7 separate regions of the Homo sapiens genome follow, and regions 2, 3, 4, 5, 6 and 7 are each linked to region 1. Evidence: promoter capture Hi-C in 16 types of primary human blood cells and fetal thymus (Javierre and others, 2016). All regions are on one chromosome and are shown on one strand. Each heading gives the region's core, a stretch centred on a gene start or on the middle of the fragment in contact. The rest is flanking DNA. Distances are from core to core; before and after follow the strand shown.

The links. Contacts are between HindIII fragments. The CHiCAGO score rates a contact against its expected background, and 5 or more counts as called.
Region 2: a fragment that was not itself captured here is called in contact with the fragment with the promoter of CYP17A1 in region 1 in 6 of 17 cell types (M0 macrophages, M1 macrophages, endothelial precursors and 3 more); the score reaches 7.7 in M0 macrophages.
Region 3: a contact is called between a fragment that was not itself captured here and the fragment with the promoter of CYP17A1 in region 1, in 1 of 17 cell types (erythroblasts). The highest score is 7.0, in erythroblasts.
Region 4: a contact is called between a fragment that was not itself captured here and the fragment with the promoter of CYP17A1 in region 1, in 2 of 17 cell types (erythroblasts and megakaryocytes). The highest score is 9.7, in erythroblasts.
Region 5: a fragment that was not itself captured here is called in contact with the fragment with the promoter of CYP17A1 in region 1 in 3 of 17 cell types (erythroblasts, M1 macrophages and M0 macrophages); the score reaches 7.3 in erythroblasts.
Region 6: a fragment that was not itself captured here is called in contact with the fragment with the promoter of CYP17A1 in region 1 in 1 of 17 cell types (erythroblasts); the score reaches 8.1 in erythroblasts.
Region 7: a fragment that was not itself captured here is called in contact with the fragment with the promoter of CYP17A1 in region 1 in 2 of 17 cell types (erythroblasts and naive CD4 T cells); the score reaches 6.2 in erythroblasts.

Annotation. Positions count from the first base shown.
Region 1 is chr10:102,836,127-102,838,826 of GRCh38, reverse strand. It overlaps CYP17A1 (cytochrome P450 family 17 subfamily A member 1), which reads left to right and starts at 1,414. Exons shown (of 8, transcript NM_000102.4): 1 at 1,414-1,762. The coding sequence starts at 1,466. RefSeq lists a promoter at 1,175-1,454. The HindIII fragment of the contact is 11,808 bases long and covers 1-2,700 here.
Region 2 is chr10:103,317,973-103,320,673 of GRCh38, reverse strand. The region is part of intron 8 of PCGF6 (polycomb group ring finger 6); the gene reads left to right. Among named protein-coding and RNA genes, the nearest start is that of PCGF6, 32 kb to the left of the region's middle. The HindIII fragment of the contact is 3,787 bases long and covers 1-2,701 here.
Region 3 is chr10:103,151,729-103,154,428 of GRCh38, reverse strand. The region is part of intron 3 of NT5C2 (5'-nucleotidase, cytosolic II); the gene reads left to right. Among named protein-coding and RNA genes, the nearest start is that of NT5C2, 40 kb to the left of the region's middle. The HindIII fragment of the contact is 402 bases long and covers 1,078-1,479 here.
Region 4 is chr10:103,100,457-103,103,156 of GRCh38, reverse strand. It overlaps NT5C2 (5'-nucleotidase, cytosolic II), which reads left to right. Exons shown (of 19, transcript NM_001351169.2): 7 at 1,831-1,922; 8 at 2,055-2,112. Among named protein-coding and RNA genes, the nearest start is that of NT5C2, 91 kb to the left of the region's middle. The HindIII fragment of the contact is 6,803 bases long and covers 1-2,700 here.
Region 5 is chr10:103,278,283-103,280,982 of GRCh38, reverse strand. The region is part of intron 1 of INA (internexin neuronal intermediate filament protein alpha); the gene reads right to left. Among named protein-coding and RNA genes, the nearest start is that of INA, 2.5 kb to the right of the region's middle. The HindIII fragment of the contact is 1,979 bases long and covers 329-2,307 here.
Region 6 is chr10:103,118,281-103,121,043 of GRCh38, reverse strand. The region is part of intron 4 of NT5C2 (5'-nucleotidase, cytosolic II); the gene reads left to right. Among named protein-coding and RNA genes, the nearest start is that of NT5C2, 74 kb to the left of the region's middle. The HindIII fragment of the contact is 5,128 bases long and covers 1-2,763 here.
Region 7 is chr10:103,222,783-103,225,482 of GRCh38, reverse strand. No RefSeq gene overlaps it. Among named protein-coding and RNA genes, the nearest start is that of RPEL1, 22 kb to the left of the region's middle. The HindIII fragment of the contact is 5,826 bases long and covers 1-2,700 here.

The DNA of each region.
Region 1 (2,700 bases), core at 165-2,664:
TAAATTCTTTTCCTAGCAAGGAGTATTATTATTAATACCCTGGGAAAGGAATGCATTCCTGGGGGGAGGTCTATAAACAGCCGCTCTGGGAATGTCTATCTTGTGCAGTTGAGATAAGGACTGAGATACGCCCTGGTCTCCTGCAGTACCCTCAGGCTTACTAGGGTGGGGAAAAACTCCGCCCTGGTAAATTTGTGGTCAGACCGGTTCTCTGCTGTCGAACCCTGTTTGCTGTTGTTTAAGGTGTTTATCAAGACAGTATGTGCACCGCTGAACATAGACCCTCATCTGTAGTTCTGCTTTTGCCCTTTGCCTTGTGATCTTTGTTGGACCCTTATCAGTGGTTCTGCTTTTGCCCTTTGCCTTGTGATCTTTGTTGGACCCTTATCGGTAGTTCTGCTTTTGCCCTTTGTCCTTTCCCTCAGAAGCATGTGATCTTTGTTAGACACTTATTAGTAGTTCTGCTTTTCGCCCTTTGAAGCATGTGATCTTTGTACCTACTCCCTGTTCTTACACCCCCTCCCCTTTTTGAAACCCTTAATAAAAACTTGCTGGTTTGAGGCTCAGGTGGGTATCACAGTCCTACCGATATGTGATGCCACCCCCGGCGGCCCAGCTGTAAAATTCCTCTCTTTATACTGTCTCTCTTTATTTCTCAGCCGGCTGACACTTATAGAAAGAACCTACGTTGAAATATTGGGGGTGGGTTCCCCCAGTACGCTAGTCCTGCTGATGAGCAAAGAAGGTGTTGATGGCATTTTGATCAACAAGAAATGTTATGAAACGGCCTCCCACCTCTGGCATTCCTAGTACTGACCTATCTCTCCCTTCCCTTCCACCGCTCCCCACAGCTTAGCACCCCTTTCGTTCCCATACACATGTACATTTTTATTTTGGGGACCATTAACCCACAGCCCTTATCGCTGCCAAAACCACATGGGCTGGAGGGCCAGGGCTGCATGGACAGTCACACCACTGCACACCAGCCTGGTGATGGAGCAAGACTCTGAAAAAAAAAAAAAGAAGCATAAAAGACCTTTAACAGTCCCTGCTACTTGTGACCCTCCTGAATCTGTCATCTGTCCAGTGATTTTGATTTTGCAACATGGAAAGTTCCAAGCCTTGACTCCTGAGCCCAGATACCATTCGCACTCTGGAGTCATTCAAGCATGGGGAGCTCCTCAGAGGGTGATCAACTGACCTCCCTTACCTAGCTCCTCCTCCGGAGGTTTGCCCTGGAGTTGAGCCAGCCCTTGAGGAGGCCTTCACTCCCACCGCCTCTCTCCCTTCTGGATATGAGCTCAGGCCTGGCTGGGCTCCAGGAGAATCTTTCCACAAGGCAAGAGATAACACAAAGTCAAGGTGAAGATCAGGGTAGCCCTTTAAAAGGCCTCCTTGTGCCCTAGAGTTGCCACAGCTCTTCTACTCCACTGCTGTCTATCTTGCCTGCCGGCACCCAGCCACCATGTGGGAGCTCGTGGCTCTCTTGCTGCTTACCCTAGCTTATTTGTTTTGGCCCAAGAGAAGGTGCCCTGGTGCCAAGTACCCCAAGAGCCTCCTGTCCCTGCCCCTGGTGGGCAGCCTGCCATTCCTCCCCAGACACGGCCATATGCATAACAACTTCTTCAAGCTGCAGAAAAAATATGGCCCCATCTATTCGGTTCGTATGGGCACCAAGACTACAGTGATTGTCGGCCACCACCAGCTGGCCAAGGAGGTGCTTATTAAGAAGGGCAAGGACTTCTCTGGGCGGCCTCAAATGGTAAGTGGTGCCCATCTCCTCCCTGCCCCCTTCACCACCCCCTGGGATTGTTCAGGTCTTCAGACCATGCCTAGAATGGGGCTTCCAGCTCCAACAACCTGTAATTCTTCCCAAAGTAGACTAGTGGGATGATGTGAAGGGAGTGAACCTTCAGACCCCCACCCAGCCTCTAAATTAGGCAGGAAGAATTAAAGGAATGTCTCCTCTACCAGGCTGCCCAGGAGGTGGGATGGGAGGACCACAGTGGTCTGAGGGGTCAAGGAATCCTCACTCCACTCCTCTCTCTGAGCCTAGACTTCTCTAATGGACTGAGAAGGTGCATGTACAGCACTTAGCCTAGCACCCAGCACAGTAAGTGCCCCTTATACAGCCAGGATTCATGTTACTTTTCATGGAAAATGGGGGCAGTGACTACTGTCCTCCATGAAAGCTGCTGGGGAGAATTAGCCTAGCTATTGCAGGCTGGGATTGCTGCTTTCCTGGTGCTATTTCCAGCTACTCAGGCTCACAGGGGCAGTTTTCTACAATGACATTTCAGGGTTGCTGATGAGCCTCCCACTCAGCAGGGCCCCCAGCCTCTCAGCATTTTTTTTTTTTTTTTTTTTTTTTGAGACAGAGTCTCTCTCTGTCGCCCAGCCTGGAGTGCAGTGGCCAATCTCAGCTCACTGCAACCTCTGCCTCCCGGGTTCAAGTGATTCTCCTGCCTCAGCCTCCTGAGTACCTGGGACTACAGGAGCATGCCACCATGCCCGCTAATTTTTTGTATTTTTAGTAGAGATGGTGTTTCACCATGTTAGCCAGGATGGTCTCGATCTCCTGACCTCGTGATCCTCCCACCTTAGCCTCCCAAAGTGCTAGGATTATAGGCGTAAGCCACTGTGCCCTGCCAGCCTCTCAGCTTTGATCAAGCCAAGGGTTGGTTTATTTTTTCTTGGACC
Region 2 (2,701 bases), core at 87-2,586, 480 kb before region 1:
TTTTTGCCCAGGATGGAGTGCAATGGTGCGATGATGTCGGCTCACCGCAACCTCCGCCTCCTGGGTTCAAGCGATTATCCTGCCTCAGCCTCCTGAGTAGCTGGGATTACAGGCATGCGCCACCATGCCTGGCTAATTTTCTAGTTTTTTTAGTAGACAGAGTTTCTCCATGTTGGCCAGGCTGGTCTTGAACTCCCAGCCTCAGGCAATCTGCCCACCTCGGCCTCCCAAAGTGCTGGGATTACAAGTGTGAGCCACCGCGCCCGGCCATCATGTGTTCTTAAGAAAGATTTAAGTTCATTTAAAATTTAGAGATCAATAATTATCCAAATATGTTTCTTTCTCATAGAGACTCCAGTGTCTCAGGGTTACTGTGGTTGATTTAGTGGTATTTACTCTTTGATGTCTTATTGTATTTTGCTTTGTTTGATATTCAGACCTTATTTTGCTTTTATGAGATGAAATTTAGAACATACACCTCACATTGATCACTAAAAATTCTTCTATAAGATGTGATATTTGATTTTGTTAATCCTGCCATAACTAATTCCATCTTAAAAGTTAGGCTGGCCAGGCATGGTGGCTCATACCTGTAATCTCAGCATTTTGGGAGGCTGAGGCGGGCGGATCACGAGGTCAAGAGATGGAGACCATCCTGGCCCACATGGTGAAACCCCATCTCTACTAAAAATACAAAAATTAGCTGGGCATGGTGGTATGCACCTGTATAGTCCCAGCTACTCGGGAAGATGAGGCAGGAGAATCACATGAATCCAGGAGGTGGAGGTTGCGGTGAGCCGAGATCGCACCACTGCACTACAGCCTGGCGACAGAGCAAGACTCCATCTCAAAAAAGTTAGGTTATTATTATTACTTATTTGGTGTATGATATTAAGCCTTCTATTAAATTTAGTTTCCAAATAATTTTTTAAGGACTAATATATGATGTTTCCATACCATTTATTATATATTGTTACTAAATTGAGGGTCTATGTATTTGACCTTAGGAGTACAAAGATGAGACAAAATTCATGCCATCAGGGGACTCAGAATTTTGTAGGAAAGATATATAAGTAAACAACTAACTAACAATAGGATGTAATGAATGCAACAGTGGAGATAACACAAAAGTGAATGATTTAACTCAGGAATGGGTTTGAAGAACAAATAGGAATTTGCCAGACACAGAAAAAAAGAACTTAGTAGCAAAGAAGAGTATGTATGGCCAGGTCCGGTGGCTCACGCTTGTAATCCCAGCACTTTGGGAGGCCGAGGCGGGCACATCACAAGGTCAAGAGATCGAGACCATCCTGGCCAACATGGTGAAACCCCGTCTCTACTAAAAATACAAAAAAAAAATTAGCTGGGCATGGTGGTACGCCTGTAGTCTCAGCTACTCAGGAGGCTGAGGCAGGAGAATCGCTTGAACCCAGGAGGCGGAGGTGGCAGTGAGCCGAGATCCCACCACTGCATTCCAGCCTGGGCGGCAGAGTGAGACTCCATCTCGAAAAGAAGAGTATGTATGATCAAAGGAATGAGCCAGTGTGGCTTATCAAAGCACACTGATTGAAAAATCTTAACTTGGAAGCTCTAGCATGATCTTGCTTTTAAAAAGATGAGGACTTTTTCTCCTTTTAATAAGACTACTTTCATGGTCTGATTTCTGCTCTGAGATTCAAAAATATTTTTGTTATCTCTTCTTGATACTCCAGAGGGTAAGATATTATGCACAAAAGAGTTAACGTATCAGCCTTGAGGCTGCTGTCGTTAGAAGGGCCTGCTTACAAAGCTGGCCTTTGGCTATCGAGGAACTAGGCCTGCAAAAAGTTTCCTACACTAATGTGAAAAGTTTTCTAACTGCAATTTGGTAGTTGTTAGACAGCGAGTGCCAACAAAACCAACTTTTTTTTTCTTTTTTCTTTTTTTTTTTCAGACAGAGTCTCGCTCTGTCGCCCAGGCTGGAGTGCAGTGGTGCCATCTCAGCTCACTGCAGCCTCTGCCTCCCAGGTTCAAGCCATTCTCTGCCTCAGCCTCCTGAGTAGCTGGGATTACAGGCGACCGCCACCATGCCCGGCTAATTTTTTTGTATTTTTGGTAGAGACAGGGTTTTACCATCTTGGCCAGGCTGGTCTTGAACTGCTGACCTTGTGATCCGCCTGCCTCAGCCTCCCAAAGTGCTAGGATTACAGGTGTGCGCCACCGCACCCGCACTTTTTTCTTTTTTTTTTTTTGAGATGGAGTCTCCCTCTGTTACCCAGGCTAGAGTGCAGTGGCGCGATCTCGGTTCACTACAACTTCTGACTCCCAGGTTTGAGTGATCCTCCTGCCTCAGCCTCCTGAGTAGCTGGGATTACAGGTGTCTGCCACCACACCCAGCTTATTTTTGTATTTTTTGTAGAGACAGGGTTTTGCCATGTTGGCCAAGCTGGTCTCGAACTCCTGACCTCAGGTGATCTGCCCGTCTCGGCCTCCCAAAGTGCTGGGATTACAGGCGTGAGCCACCGCACCCAGTTGATCCCATTTTTTTTAAAGCAAAAAATGAATAACAGAAAAACCCACATGCACACATAGTGTTCTAGGACCATACACATCAAACTCTTAGAAACTGACCAACCCCAGCTGGGTGCGGTGGCTCATGCCTGTAATCCCAGCACTTTGGGAGGCTGAAGTGGGCGGATTGCCTGAGTTCGGGAGTTCGAGA
Region 3 (2,700 bases), core at 29-2,528, 320 kb before region 1:
CTACCTTAAAGTCTTTTATCCCTTAATTTTATTTTGAATTTATAGTATTTAGTAGTGCTTTTAATTACTTAGTAACTATTTAAACATTTTAATAACAAAAAGAAACCTTTATGGTAAGATATTTAGGTAATATTTAAAGGGATAAAGCTTTTAAAAATTTTAAGCCTTAATTCAAGTAGTAGTTCTTTAAGGTATATGTATTTTATTTTTAATTTGAATCACCGTGAGGAGGATTTGCCATCTCAATGTTCTTAGACTTTAGCAGACTTATTTATTTCTTCCCCTGTTGCATAATCCCTATGCATTATATTGGTCGGGAGGCAGGAATGTTACAGATTCTTTTTTTTCAAAGCTCAGTTTGCTCTGAGATTTGGAATTAACCTTTAGAATGTTCTGGATTTATCCCCCATATGCCAAAGATCTGTAAATATCTTTTCACATGAGCTGAAATTTTCAGGCGATTAAGTGAAATATTTGTGAACGCAGATGTTTTGTTTAAAAGCAGTTAATGAAGTCAGAAAAAAAAATACCTCGCTGTGGAAATACTTTAGGTTCCTCCTGTAATATGATCTGCACATACTTCCTTCTCTTGTAATTCACATTGTTTATTTTCTGAGGGAGGAAATAACTACACTAATAATTAAAACATAAAATTATTTATCCTGTGTTTTTTGCTCCCAGAGTAAACTAAAAATGATTTTGACCGACCAGGGCTGCTTGATTCTGTGAAACTCACATTGTTTGCGTACTGTTGGAGGGCCTCATTAGGGGGTAAATTTGCTTTTTCTGTGTTTGCCAGTAACGATTCCTGTCTCTTACAGGAACTTGCCATTTGGATTGTCTCCTTCCTTAACTGGCCAGCCTTAAACAGTTCAGGCCATTAGTTATTTTTCCTAGTCTTGAAATTTTTAAAAAAATTATTCTTAAGTTTTCAAGTATTTAAAGCTGAGGATATTGGTCACTGAGATATTGCCTAGTTAGGGTTCGGCATTGTGCCCAAATTTGTTGGGCCTCTCAGGGCCTGAGTTCTCTGTGCTTTAACAAATGAGCTACAGTTCTCAAGAGATCAGTGAAGCTTGTTTGTTGATCCTGTATTCTCATCCAGAGGAAGTAGATCTTTGAGAATGTCTAAGGAAGGGTAAGTGATTTTATTATTCTTTCTCTTTCATTTTTCTCAGTGAAGAGGTATCATCTGCATGAATTAAAAGATTAATAAGCAGTGCTACCAGTCCGAGAGTGGAGGTAGAGGCAGAGATTGAAAGAAATTCAGCCCAAATCTTATAGTGTTTCATGTGTAATCTACTATAAAGTTGCTATTGTTGTTTTGAAAGACAGCACTGAGTAAGGGCAATCTTAATAGGAATTTTGTAAGATATAAGTACTTTGTTTACTCTGTGGTAAATTCATTTTGTTTTTCTGCAGAATGTATTTATCAAGATTGGAAGCAAACGGTGGTTTACCGAAGAATTGAGGGAAGCTTAAAAATTCAATGGCGTTTTAAAATAAGTTGTACCTTTAGAAAATGGTGTGAAATATTTAGTGAAAAACAGCCTATGATTTTGTTTCTGGGGCATGTAGGCAAAAAATAATTTAGAGTAGAATTCCCTATTCTAATTTGCTTTGCAATATAAGATAGTTCCATATTATTTTTGTATTATTTTCTCTTATGCTTCAGAGTCTGAATTATTACTGATTCTCTTTTTGTGACCACTATAATAAGTGATAAGTTAATAACTGCATACTGTTGGTTATTTCATTTCTAGCCTTCAGGCATAACTAGACCTGGTTAATTTTAGAGAGATGTTTCTTTTAATAAAATAGGACATAAATCTCTCAAAAAAATTCTTTAAAAATACAGTAAAAGTTTAGTTTTTATTTTTCTGGAATCTATTAATTATCTTTCTAGTTCTTTTGTTCTGTAAGAAAATTTGAAGTGGTTCCAGAGCCTCACATTTACAACTTATTTTAATCTAATCATGTATTGATTATGAACAAAATAAAATTGGCCCACTTTACTGCTATTTTTAGATTTCATTATTGAATAACGAGAACAACCAGGGGTATAAGTAATTCTGTATTATTTTTAGACCTTTTATGACATCACTAGAAATTTGAGGTTTCTTTTAAATGTGAAAATTATGAAAGGACTGCTGTTTTAGATTGGTATATTTTCTTAAAGGACTGCCTTTTTAGGTTGGTATATTTTCTTTCCTTCTACCACTGGCTATAGATAGGTAGGTGTTAAACCATTTTTATGATAAGGACTATCACAGGTGCTAGTATGTTTGTCAATCTTGTACACAGGGTTGTTTATAAAGCTATTATAGTTTGTAGATTTAAGATGAATTGTATTTCTAGACGCGGTTAAAGTTCTTGGAAGTAGTTAGTGCTAATTTTTACCCTATGGTAAAGTATATGTTAGACTTGGTTAGTTAGAGAAAGTTGGAGGGACCTATATTACCCCTCTAGGACACTGTAACGGCAGATTTTTTTTTTAGGTTTATCTCTAGGAGCCTCTGGAGCAATGTCTGTACTGTCCGAATGGATAATAAGTGCATTTGAAGTACATGGAGTATATAAATGACATCAATTAAGTTTTATTCTCTATGCTATCTTTAGAAATAAATGGATACATTTTGTGCTTGGGGATGAAAAAAATTCTTACATTCACCGTTTTCATAAGTGCAATATTGACATTTA
Region 4 (2,700 bases), core at 154-2,653, 260 kb before region 1:
TTTCCTTTATTTACATTGTTAATCTCCATGTATTCACTGTCAGAACTGTGCATTTTTATATTTTAGTATTTTTCCCTTTGAGTTTCTCTGAAATGTTTTCTTCTAGAAGTGTTTTTGCATCTTTAACAAATTCTGCTTCACTGGCTTTTTTCTTTTAAACCTTGAATTTTCTTCATGGTTCTGTTCTGTCTCTTCTCTTCCTTCTCTGCACACTAAGTGGTTTCATCTCCTCTAATACTTTTCATGATTCCATCTAGTATCTGTACGTAGATGATCTCAGTTATCTCTCAAGGCTGAATCTCTTTTAAGTTCTTGACCTTTGTTTCTAATTGCCTAATAAAAATCAGTTTACTTCAAACTTAGTATCACTAAAATAGAACTACTCTCACATCACTTCTTATCTAGTTTTCATATTTCTGTTCATCGTACCAACCACCTCTCAGAGACACCTTAGCATGGACATCATCATCTTTGACTCTTTAATGTTCCCCCAGCCAAATCTGCTCAGTTTGCCGGGTCTTATTTTACCTTGGTAATCTCTCTTGAATATATGAGTGAGCTGAGATCACGCCACTGCACTCCAGCCTGGCCGACAGAGTGAGACTCTGTCTCAAAAAAAAAAAAAGAAAAAAGAAAAAATTCTGAGAGTCAACTGGGTGATTCTGGGTTGCACAGCTGATCTCTCTATGCTCTTTCACATGTCTGTGGTTAGCTGGTGGGTGACCTGGCATCTGATCTACAATGGCCTCATGCACATGTCTGGCATTCACAGGCTGTTGGCCGAGTGCTTCATTTCTACATGTAGCCTTCTATCCTCCAGCAGACTATCTCACTGTCATGCACATAGTAGTCCATGGTTCCAAGTGCTGCAAGAGAGATTAAGCCTCAATACACACATGTTTTTCTAGGTCTCTGCTTGGATCCCATTTGCTGCTATACAAGCCTATATTCAAGGATAGAGAAATAGACTGAGTTCTAATGGGAGGAGCCACAAAATTGCATCACAAAGAGACAGGAAGAATTTGTGGCCATTGTTGGAGTGCATCACATTGTCTTTCCCCAGTTTATCCTAAAACAGCCACTAATTTAATTTTGTTTTACAACTCAGCCCCGATGGGATTATCCTCTGCTTTAAAACTGTCAGTAGTACCCTCTTGCCCCTAAATGGTGTAGAAACAGTAGCTTAATCTGCCTCAACCCATCTTTCTAGCTTAATTTTTCTCTGCTCCCCTTTCTCTACCCAAGTTGGACTAGTTTCACAACTGGTCCACCTAGCCTTTAAGGCCCAGCTCATATACCAGCACGTGCATGAATCCTTCCTAGATTTTCCTCTCCTTAGTCCTCACATTTGCTTCTCTCTACCTCTTAAGTTGAAATGGTGTTCCCTTCTTTGGTTTTCTCATAAATGTTTGCACCTTTCTTGTAGTAGTTGTGATTTTTTACCTTATAATTATATGTGTATGTGACCCACCTCGCCCACCACACTGACAACTCTTTTAAGAGCTGGAACCTAAGCTGGACATCACACCTGTAATCCCAGCTACTTGGGAGGCTGAGGTGGGAAGATTGCTTGAGCAATCTTCAGGAGTTTGAGTCCAGCCTGGACTTAAAATAGCAAGACTGTCTTAAAAAAAAAAAAAAATTAAAATTAAAAAAAATAAAGAGCTGGAACCTGAACTCGTTCATCTTCATAGCTATCCATGCGTAATATTCGGAATTCTGTCTTGCACATAGCCATCAAAATATTTGAGTTAATTTTTGAATAATGCTATTTCCCAATTATTATAATGTTATTTTAAAAATCAGTTAATTTTTAAATTTTTCTTTCAGACCAGAAACTAGAGAACAGTATCCAAATAAATTTATCCAGCGAGATGATACTGAAAGATTTTACATTCTGAACACACTATTCAACCTACCAGGTAGATTCATTCTATGCTTATTTATACTGATGCTTTCCCTTCTGTGACCATTAGTCTGTATTCAAGGGAGGTAATGAAATAAGTTTGAATTATTTCATTATAGCTTATGAATATCTGTTCTTCATTTTTCAGAGACCTACCTGTTGGCCTGCCTAGTAGATTTTTTTACTAATTGTCCCAGATATACCAGGTATGTATATACTATAATTATTTTTTTCCAATTGATTTTTAAAATTAATGCACAGGGTTTTAGAGAACTGGCCATTGTAGGTCTTTTCTGCTTTTCTAAAGTGAATTTAGTGCTAGTGAGAGATGCCACATTGCCAACCTGAGAGATGGGACAGCACCAGCAGCTCCATGCAGGCTCTCACCTCCCACACGGCCCCTCTCCTTGCCAGTGTGCTGCAGCCACCACTTCTGATTGGCTTCTCCTGGGAATGAAGACGGCCAGCAGAGGTGCTAATTGTGACAACTGAGTGGGAGGTTTGTGTGATGATTATCTGTCCAAGCAGAATTACACTAAAACCCCCCAACTCATTTCACAGCAGCTACCCAGGAGCCATTCAGGGATGGTAATTTAATTTCATTCCCAGGCCAGGCAAGATTTGATTAAGGAATAAATACTGTGTATCTTATCAGAAGTAAAATTTTGCGTAAGTCTTAAACAAGTTATCCTCTCCCTTTAGGGAGAATTATATAGCCAATACTGAAAGTTTAGCCATCTATATACCAGAGTTGGCTAACTTCTTATCCTCTTTGGGCTTTATCCACTTGAAGA
Region 5 (2,700 bases), core at 69-2,568, 440 kb before region 1:
TTTCAAGGAAAGCTTCAACTTTCCAAGACTGACCACAGTAGAGGTCTGAGACCCTGAGTACCCTCCAAGAATGTCTTTGGACATCTTTAACAGAACTAGGACTCTAATGGTGCCGAAGTGGCTATGTAGGCACCAGCATTGCCCTATGTCAGAAATGGAAACCCCATCAGCTTTTTATGCAGAGGGGAGTTGCATTTGGCTTTTGAAGACAATAGCCTTAGCTCTTCCTAATCTCTTCTCTTGCCTGATTCAGACTCTCTCATCCACTATTGTGTACTTACTGTGTCACCGTGAATCATTTTTTACCCTTTCAAAAGTGTAAGAAGCTTTCTCTCCTTAAATAGGCTATCAGCTATCTGGGGCAGAGAAGATGGGACTTTAATGGGGCCTTCCTATGTTTCATAGAGGGTGCCAAGTTTGAAAAGAAAAATGGCCCTACCACTAATCTCTGTAGCAGAAGAAGGAGAACAGCCTCCCATTACTGCAGTGAAAGGTGGGGATGAGATGAGAGGGCAAGAAAACAATGGCTAAATCTCACTGTAGAAAGGGAGGCTTTTCACCTTGGTCAGCACTGCTAAGATTGTTAGAACAGTCAGAGACACCCTTGTGGCATCAGGCCGTTAGGATCTGCAGGTAAGACTTGAGCTCCACCTTAGCCTTAGGTCCCAAGGAGTAGGGAACCAGCTCTCTGTTGTCTGACCTCCTCTTCCACTCCCATCAGCAGGTCCTCTGTGGCTCTAAAGGCTCAAGCTGATGGGGGCAGCACCGCAGAGCTGCAGATGCTGCAGTTTCTCTGTTGTTGTTTTTTGTTTGTTTCCTGTAGACCATGTCTGGATGACGCTACCATTGTCTAATGATGAAAGCCTTTTACAGCAAACAAGCCAGGCAAAACTGTCACTACTTCTTAGAATGTATGGGCTATAACAAGCAGAGAAAATGGAGAAGCCCAATTCAGCTGGCAGCTCTGAGTAAGTTATCCTTTTTTTGTAGAAATACTGGGCTAGCCCTCCAGAAGACCACCTAGCTCGTACTTGGAGGCTTCTAGAAGAAAAAAATGAAGTCTCAATTAGCCAAATGTGATTAATTCAGGCCATCCAGGGGTTAGGGTACATAATGAAAAGTTCAAGTTATGGATTTTGAGGCAGAAATGGAAGTACTTATTTGAATGATAATGCAATACCAAACTAACCTAAACAGTCCAAGCAGGCTTTTTTCCTTTATCAAAGGAAGTTATTGTAACAAACAGCAAATACCTGCACATCAATAAGAATTCTTTAGCTTCTGATTAAAATGTTACTTTTGAGATTTCATTCCTTTCTTGGTTCTATTTTACCAATGTTCCAAGCCCTATTAATCTCACCAAATGTAAACTTTAATCCTAGCTAGAATTATTGCAAGTTTCTGAATTATAGTCATTCTATTCAAAGGAGCTTTTATTGTACCTTGAAACCGAACCACACTATTCCAATTCTTTTCTACACCTTCCATTTACCCTGTCCCCTGCCTCTGTGCCATTTGCGGTCATAATCCCAGAATTTCTTATATAGTAAAACTGAAGACACAGTGGCCTTTGTTGGGAAGAAATAGCCAATCAATACCATCACAGGAGCTTAGAGGACAGGGAAATATGGAAAAAATACATACACTAGAACAAAGAAAAACCATCTCTGTGACTTATCACATGCACTTACAATGAAAAAAATACTAACAAAACAGGAATTTTCAAGTGGGACCTCACAGCTGCTGAGCAAATTAAGTGTTTTTTGTTTAGTGCTAAGCCATCCATGAAAGCCAAAACTGATGTTGTCTATGAGGTGACCTTTGATTGCAGGTAGCCAAGACTGATGTGTTGGTGTTGCAGGAAAAAAAAAATCAAAGCAGTTAATTGCCTAGAGATTCATAACTGGGACACGAGACAGGAGAGACATAATTTCTGAGATGGGAAGAACTCGAGATCAGCACCGTGGACAGCGCCCCGACCTTTCACGTTTTGCCAACCGGCGAACGCTTTCTTAAGGAGGAAATGTCAGCTGGTGGACAAGGGAATCGTGTGTGTGTGTGTGTGTGTGTGTGTGTGTGCTGGTGGACAAGGGAATCGTGTGTGTGTGTGTGTTGGGGAGGTGGGTAGAGCAGGGTGGTTACTACTAGCTCAAGCATCGCTCAGCTTGTTGGCTCCCAATCTCTACTTTTTGGAGCGCGAAAGTCAAGAAAATGGGATAGGACTCTTCCCAGTTCAGGATCGCATTCTTCCTTCAGCCCTGAAGCAGACCATACTCCATAAATAACTTCTAGGGCGCACAGAAAGCTTTTCAAAGTCAACCAAACAAGCCAGATAGCCGAGACAGCACCGCCCACGTAACCTGCCCCGTTGGGCTCAGTCTTACTTTGGGTGGGGCACTGTTCTCCGGGTCGCCGGTGTGTGTAGGCCCGCTTGCTGACAGACAGGCAGAGTTGGGTTTTCGAACCTCAAATAAATTTAAGGGCTTCTTTGTTTGAAGGGCTGGGGCAGGGACATAAATGAGGGGCGTTCCCTAAAATTAACATTAAAGACTCCAGGGTTTTTTGTTAACCAGCGCCTCCAGCCGCGGCTCTTCTCTCCTCTCTTTTGCCCTCCCCTTAAGTCCTGGGGCCCAGTTTTACCAGAGGAAGAGGGTACGCGCGGAAGAGGGCAGGGCACCCCTCCCCACGCCCAGCCCCGGC
Region 6 (2,763 bases), core at 119-2,618, 280 kb before region 1:
TACAATACTTGTTTTGTGTCTGGCTTATTTCTTTTAGCATATTTTTTAAATTTGTCCATGTTATAGCATATATTACTTTTTGAGACTGAATAATATTCTACTGTAGGTATATACATTTGTTTATCTGTTCATCTGTTGATGGACATGGGGATTGTCTCCACCTTTTGGCTATTATGAATAGGCTGCTGTGAACATTGGTATTTAAGCATCTGTTTGAGTTCCTGCTTCCTGCTTTCAGTTGTTTTGGGTATATACCCAGGAATGGAATTGCTGGATCATAACGTAAATCTATGTTTAGCTTTTTAAAGAACTGCCAAACTGTTCTCTATAGTGGCTGTAACATCTTACATCCCCACCAGCAATACATGAATGAGAGTTCCAGTTTCTTCACATCTTGGCAATACTTATTTTCAGGTTTTTTGTTGTTGTTTGATAATACTCATTCTACTGGGTGTGAAGTTACGGTATCTTATGGTTTTGATTTCATGTTTCTCTAATGGCTGGTGATATTAAGCATCATTTCATGTGTTTATTTAGTCAGTTATATAACTTCTTTGGAGAAATATCAGTTTTTTAAAATTAGGTTTTTAAAATAACTGTGGAGTTACACATTCTGCATATTAATCTTTATATATTCTGGATATTAATCCCTCATCAGATACACAATTTGCAAATATTGTCTCTCATTCTGTGGGTTTTCTTTTCCCTCTCTTGATCATGGCTTTTGAGGCACAAAAGTTTTTAATTTTGAAGTCCAGTTTATCTGTTTTTTTCTTTTGTTGCCAGTGCTTTTTGCTGTCATAGCTGTGAAATCATTCCCAAATCCAATATAAGGAAGATTTTCTGCCATGTTTTCTTCTAAGAGTTTTATAGTTTTAACTCCTACATTTAGGTCTTTGATCCATTTTGAGTTTACTTCTTTTCTTTTCTTCCTTTTTTTTTTTTGAAACAGGGTCTCACACTGTCATCCAGGCTGGAGTGCAGTGGTGTGATCTCAGCTCACTGCAACCTCTGCCTCCCAGGCTCAAGTGATTCTCCCATTTCAGCCTCCCAAGTAGCTGGGACTATAGGCTCGTGCCATCATGCCTGGCTAATTTTTTTATTTTTTGTAGAAATGGGGTTTCACCATGTTGCCCAGGCTGGTCTCTAATTCCTGGACTCAAGCAGTCCACCAGCCTCAGCCTTCCAGAGTGCTGGGATTACAGGCATGAGACTGCAACTGGCCACGCCTTTTTTTTTGTTTAATGAAACCAATGACAATGTAAAAGTCTGTGCTTTAGCATTTCTTCTTAAAGAACGATGAAACTCTTTGATGAATTAAGATGGAAGATTAGCTGAGCTGAACTTACTATTGATAGCGTGTAAACTGGTTGCATCTATTTGGAGTTCTTACTGTGACGAGAGGTCTCTGAAAGGAATGTATTTGTTGAAAAGTCTTTGGTACAAAACAAGAAAGGTAACCTTTATCAAAAAGACCAAAGAAATTCTCATTGTCCTAGGTCATGAAATAATACTCAGGGCATCCTCCTCACAACTTGGAAAATATAGAACTTGTGCATTACCTCATCCCACTGGCTTCCAGATTATATGTGCAAGAGATATTTGTGTGAGGGAATGAGCACTTCTAAGTCAGTGAAAGCTACCAACCTGTATATACCCTCTGACTTTTTTTTGGAGACAAAATTTTGCTCTTGTTGCCCAGGCTGGAGTACAATGGCGCGATCTCAGCTCACCGCAACCTCTGCCTCCTGGATTCAAATGATTCTCCTGCCTCAGCCTCCTGAGTAGCTGGGATTTCAGGCATGTGCCACCATGCCTGGCTAATTTTGTATTTTTAGTAGAGATGGGGTTTCTCCATGTTGGTCAGGCTGGTCTTGAACTCCCCATCTCAGGTGATCCACCCATCTTGGCTTCCCAAAGTACTGGGATTACAGGTGTGAGCCACTGTGCCCGGCCCTCTGACTTATTCTTGAGAGATTTATCAGTTTGTGAATGGATCAAAAGCATACAACTGAAAATTAAAGAACAGAAAAATAGATGTAGTTTGACTTACTACATCTTAAAAATGCATTCATGATCTCCCTTAGTGATCTTTTTTCTTAAGAGTTTTTGGACTCTTGCCCTCCCCCACAAATAGGGTAGAATAAGAGAATAAGCTGAGTATTTAAACTAGGGTAACAGATAAAAAGAAAAAAAAAATTCCCTCTCCAAAAAGAGATGATCCCTTAAAAAACAAACAAACAAAAAAGATAATTGTGGTTAATAAAATTAATAAAAATAAATTAGAAAACATTCATAAAACTAAACAAAGTAAAAATCTAATCAGAATATATCATAAGGACTCAACCCCTAAAGGAGATTTGTGAAGATGAAATGTGATGATTTTGTCCAGGCATGGTGGCTTATTCCTGTAATTAATGCCAGCACTTTGGGAGGCCGAGGCAGATGGATTGCTTGCACCTAGGAGTCCAGGACCAGCCTGAGCAACATAACAAAACCGCATCTCTACAAAAAATGCAAAAATTAGTTGAGCGTGGTGCACGTCTGTAATCCCAGCTACTCTGGAGGCTGAGGTGGGAGAATTGCTTGATCCTGGGAGGCGGAGGTTGCAGTGAGCTGAGATTGTGCCACTGCACTTCAGCCTGGGCTACAGAATGAGACCTATCCAAAAAAAAAAAAAAAGGAAAAGAAATATGATAATTTCATGCTAGATTCATTGAATTGTATCAATGTTCTGATTAGACTAAACTGAACTTGACAAGG
Region 7 (2,700 bases), core at 77-2,576, 390 kb before region 1:
CTACTAAAAATACAAAAAAATTAGCTGGGCGTGGTGGCTGGCACCTGTGGTCCCAGCTACTTGGGAGGCTGAGGCAGGAGAATGGCGTGAAGCCAGGAAGTGGAGCTTGCCATGAGCCAAGATCACACCTCTGCACTCCAGCCTGGGCGACAGAGCAAGACTCTGTCTCAAAACAAAAACGAAAACAAAAAAATGTGTGTACCACTTCCGGCTGGGCGCAGTGGCTCACGCCTGTAATCCCAGCACTTTGGGAGGCCGAGGCAGGTGGATCACGAGGTCAGGAGCTCAAGACCAGCCTGGCCAAGATGGTGAAAACCCATCTCTACTAAAAATACAAAAATTAGCTGAGCTTGGTGACAGGTGCCTGTAATCCCAGCTACTTGGGAGGGTGAGGCAGGAGAATTGCTTGAACCCAGGCAGCAGAGGTTGCAGTGAGCCGAGATCATGCCATTGCACTCCAGCTTGGGCAACAAGGTGAGACTCCGTCTCAAAAAAGAAAAAAAAAATTGTGTACCACTTCCCCCGATCTCTTCCTCTTGCTCCAGCCACGTAAGACATGCCTGCTTCCCTTTTGCCTTCCACCATGATTTAAAGTTTCCTGAGGCCTCCCAGAAGGCTTCATGCTCCTGTACAGGCTGCAGAACCGTGAGCCAATTAAACTTCTTTTCTTTATAAATTACCCAATCTCATGTATTTCTTTATAGCAGGGTGAGAACAGACTAATACAGAAAATTGGTACTGGGAGTGTGGCATTGCTATAAAGATACTTGAAAATGTGGGAGCGGCTTGAGAACTGGATAAGGGGCAGAAGTTAGAACAGCCTGGAAGGCTCAGAAGAAGACAGGAAGATGAGAAAAAAGTTGGAACTTCCTAGAAACTGGTTAAATGGTTGTTACCAAAATGCTGATATTGAGCTGGACAATGAAGTCCAGGCTGAGGAGGTCTCAGATGGAAATGAGGAACTTATTGGAAACTGGAGCAAAGGTCACTTTTGTTATGTGTTAGCAAAGAGGTTGCAGGCATTGTGCCCCTGTCCTAGGGGTCTGTGGAACTTTGAACTTGAGAGTGATGATTTAGGGTATCTGGTGGGGAAATTTCTCAGCAGCAAAGCATTCAAGAAGTGACCTGGCTGCTTCTGACTACCTATGTTCATATGCATGAGCAAAGAAATGACATAAAACTGGAACTTGTATTTAAAAGGGAAGCAGAAGGTAAAAGTTTGGAAAATTTGCAGCCAGGCCCACATAGAAAGGAAAAACCATGCCTGTCGTCCAAGCTACTCAGGAGGCTGAAGTGGGAGGATCGCTTGAGCCCAGAAGGCAGAAGTTTCAGTGAGCCGAGATGGCGCCACTGCACTCCAACCTAGGCGACAGAGTGGGACTTTGTCTCAAAATTCAAGCTCACTACACAAATTTGCTTAAGTAAAGAGGAGCCAAATGCTGATAGCCAAGACAATGGGAAAAAGGCCTCAAAGGCATCTCAGAAACCTTTGCGGCAGCCCCTCTCATCACAGGCCTTGGGGCCTAGGAGGGAAGAATGGCTTTGTGGGCCAGGCCCAGGGCTTTGTCACCCTGTACAGCCTCAGGACACTGCTCCCTGCATCCTAGCCACTCCAGCTCCAGCTGTGGCTAAAAGTGGCTGTAGCTCCAGCCACTGCTCCAGAAGGTGCAAGCCATAAGCCTTGGCAGCTTCCATGTAATGCTAAGCCTACTGGTGCACAGAGTACAAGAGTTGAGGTTTGGGAGCCTCTGCCTAGATTTCAGAGGATTTGTGGAAAAGCCTTGATGTCCAAGCAGAAGCCTGCTGTAGAGGTGGAGCCTTATGGAGAACCTCTACTAGGGCAGTGGAGCCCCTACACAGAATCCCCATTGGGCACTGCTTAATGGAGCTGTGAGAAGAGGACCACCATCCTTCAGACCCCAGAATGGTAGATTCACTGGCAGCTTGCACCCTCCACCTAGAAGAGCTGTAGGCACTCAATTCCAGCCTATGAAAGCCACCATGGGGGCTGTACCCTGGAAAGCCTCAGGGGTGGAGTTGCCCAAGGCCTTGGGAGCCCACCCATAGCACCAGTGTGCACTAGATGTGAGACATGGAGTCAAAGGAAATTATTTTGGAGTTTTAAGATTCAGCTGGGCACAGTGGCTCATGCCTGTAATCCCAGCACTTTGGGAGGCCAAGGTGGGCGGATCATGAGGTCAGGAGTTCGAGACCAGCCTGGCCAATATGGTGAATACAAAAATATTCTACTAAAAATACAAAAATTAGCCAGGCACTTGCTAGTGGCGGCACTTGCCTGTAGTCCCAGCTACTTGGGAGGCTGAGACAGAAGAATTGCTTGAATCCAGGAGGCAGAGGTTGAAGTGAGATGAGATTGTGCCACTGCACTCCATGCACTCCAGCCTGGGTGACAGAGCAAGACTCCATCTCAAAAAAAAAAAAAAGATTTAATGACTGCCCTGCTGGGTTTCAAACTTGCATGGGGCCTGTAGCCTCTTTCTTTTGGCCAATTTTTCCCTTTTGGAATGGGAATATTTACCCAATGCCTGTACCCTCATTGTATCTTGGGAGTAACTAACCTGTTTTTTATTTTATAGGCTCACAGGCAGAAGGGACTTGCCTTGTCTCAGATGAGATTTGGGACTGTGGACTTTTGAGTTAATGCTGGAATGACTTAAGACTTTGGGGGCCATTGAGAAT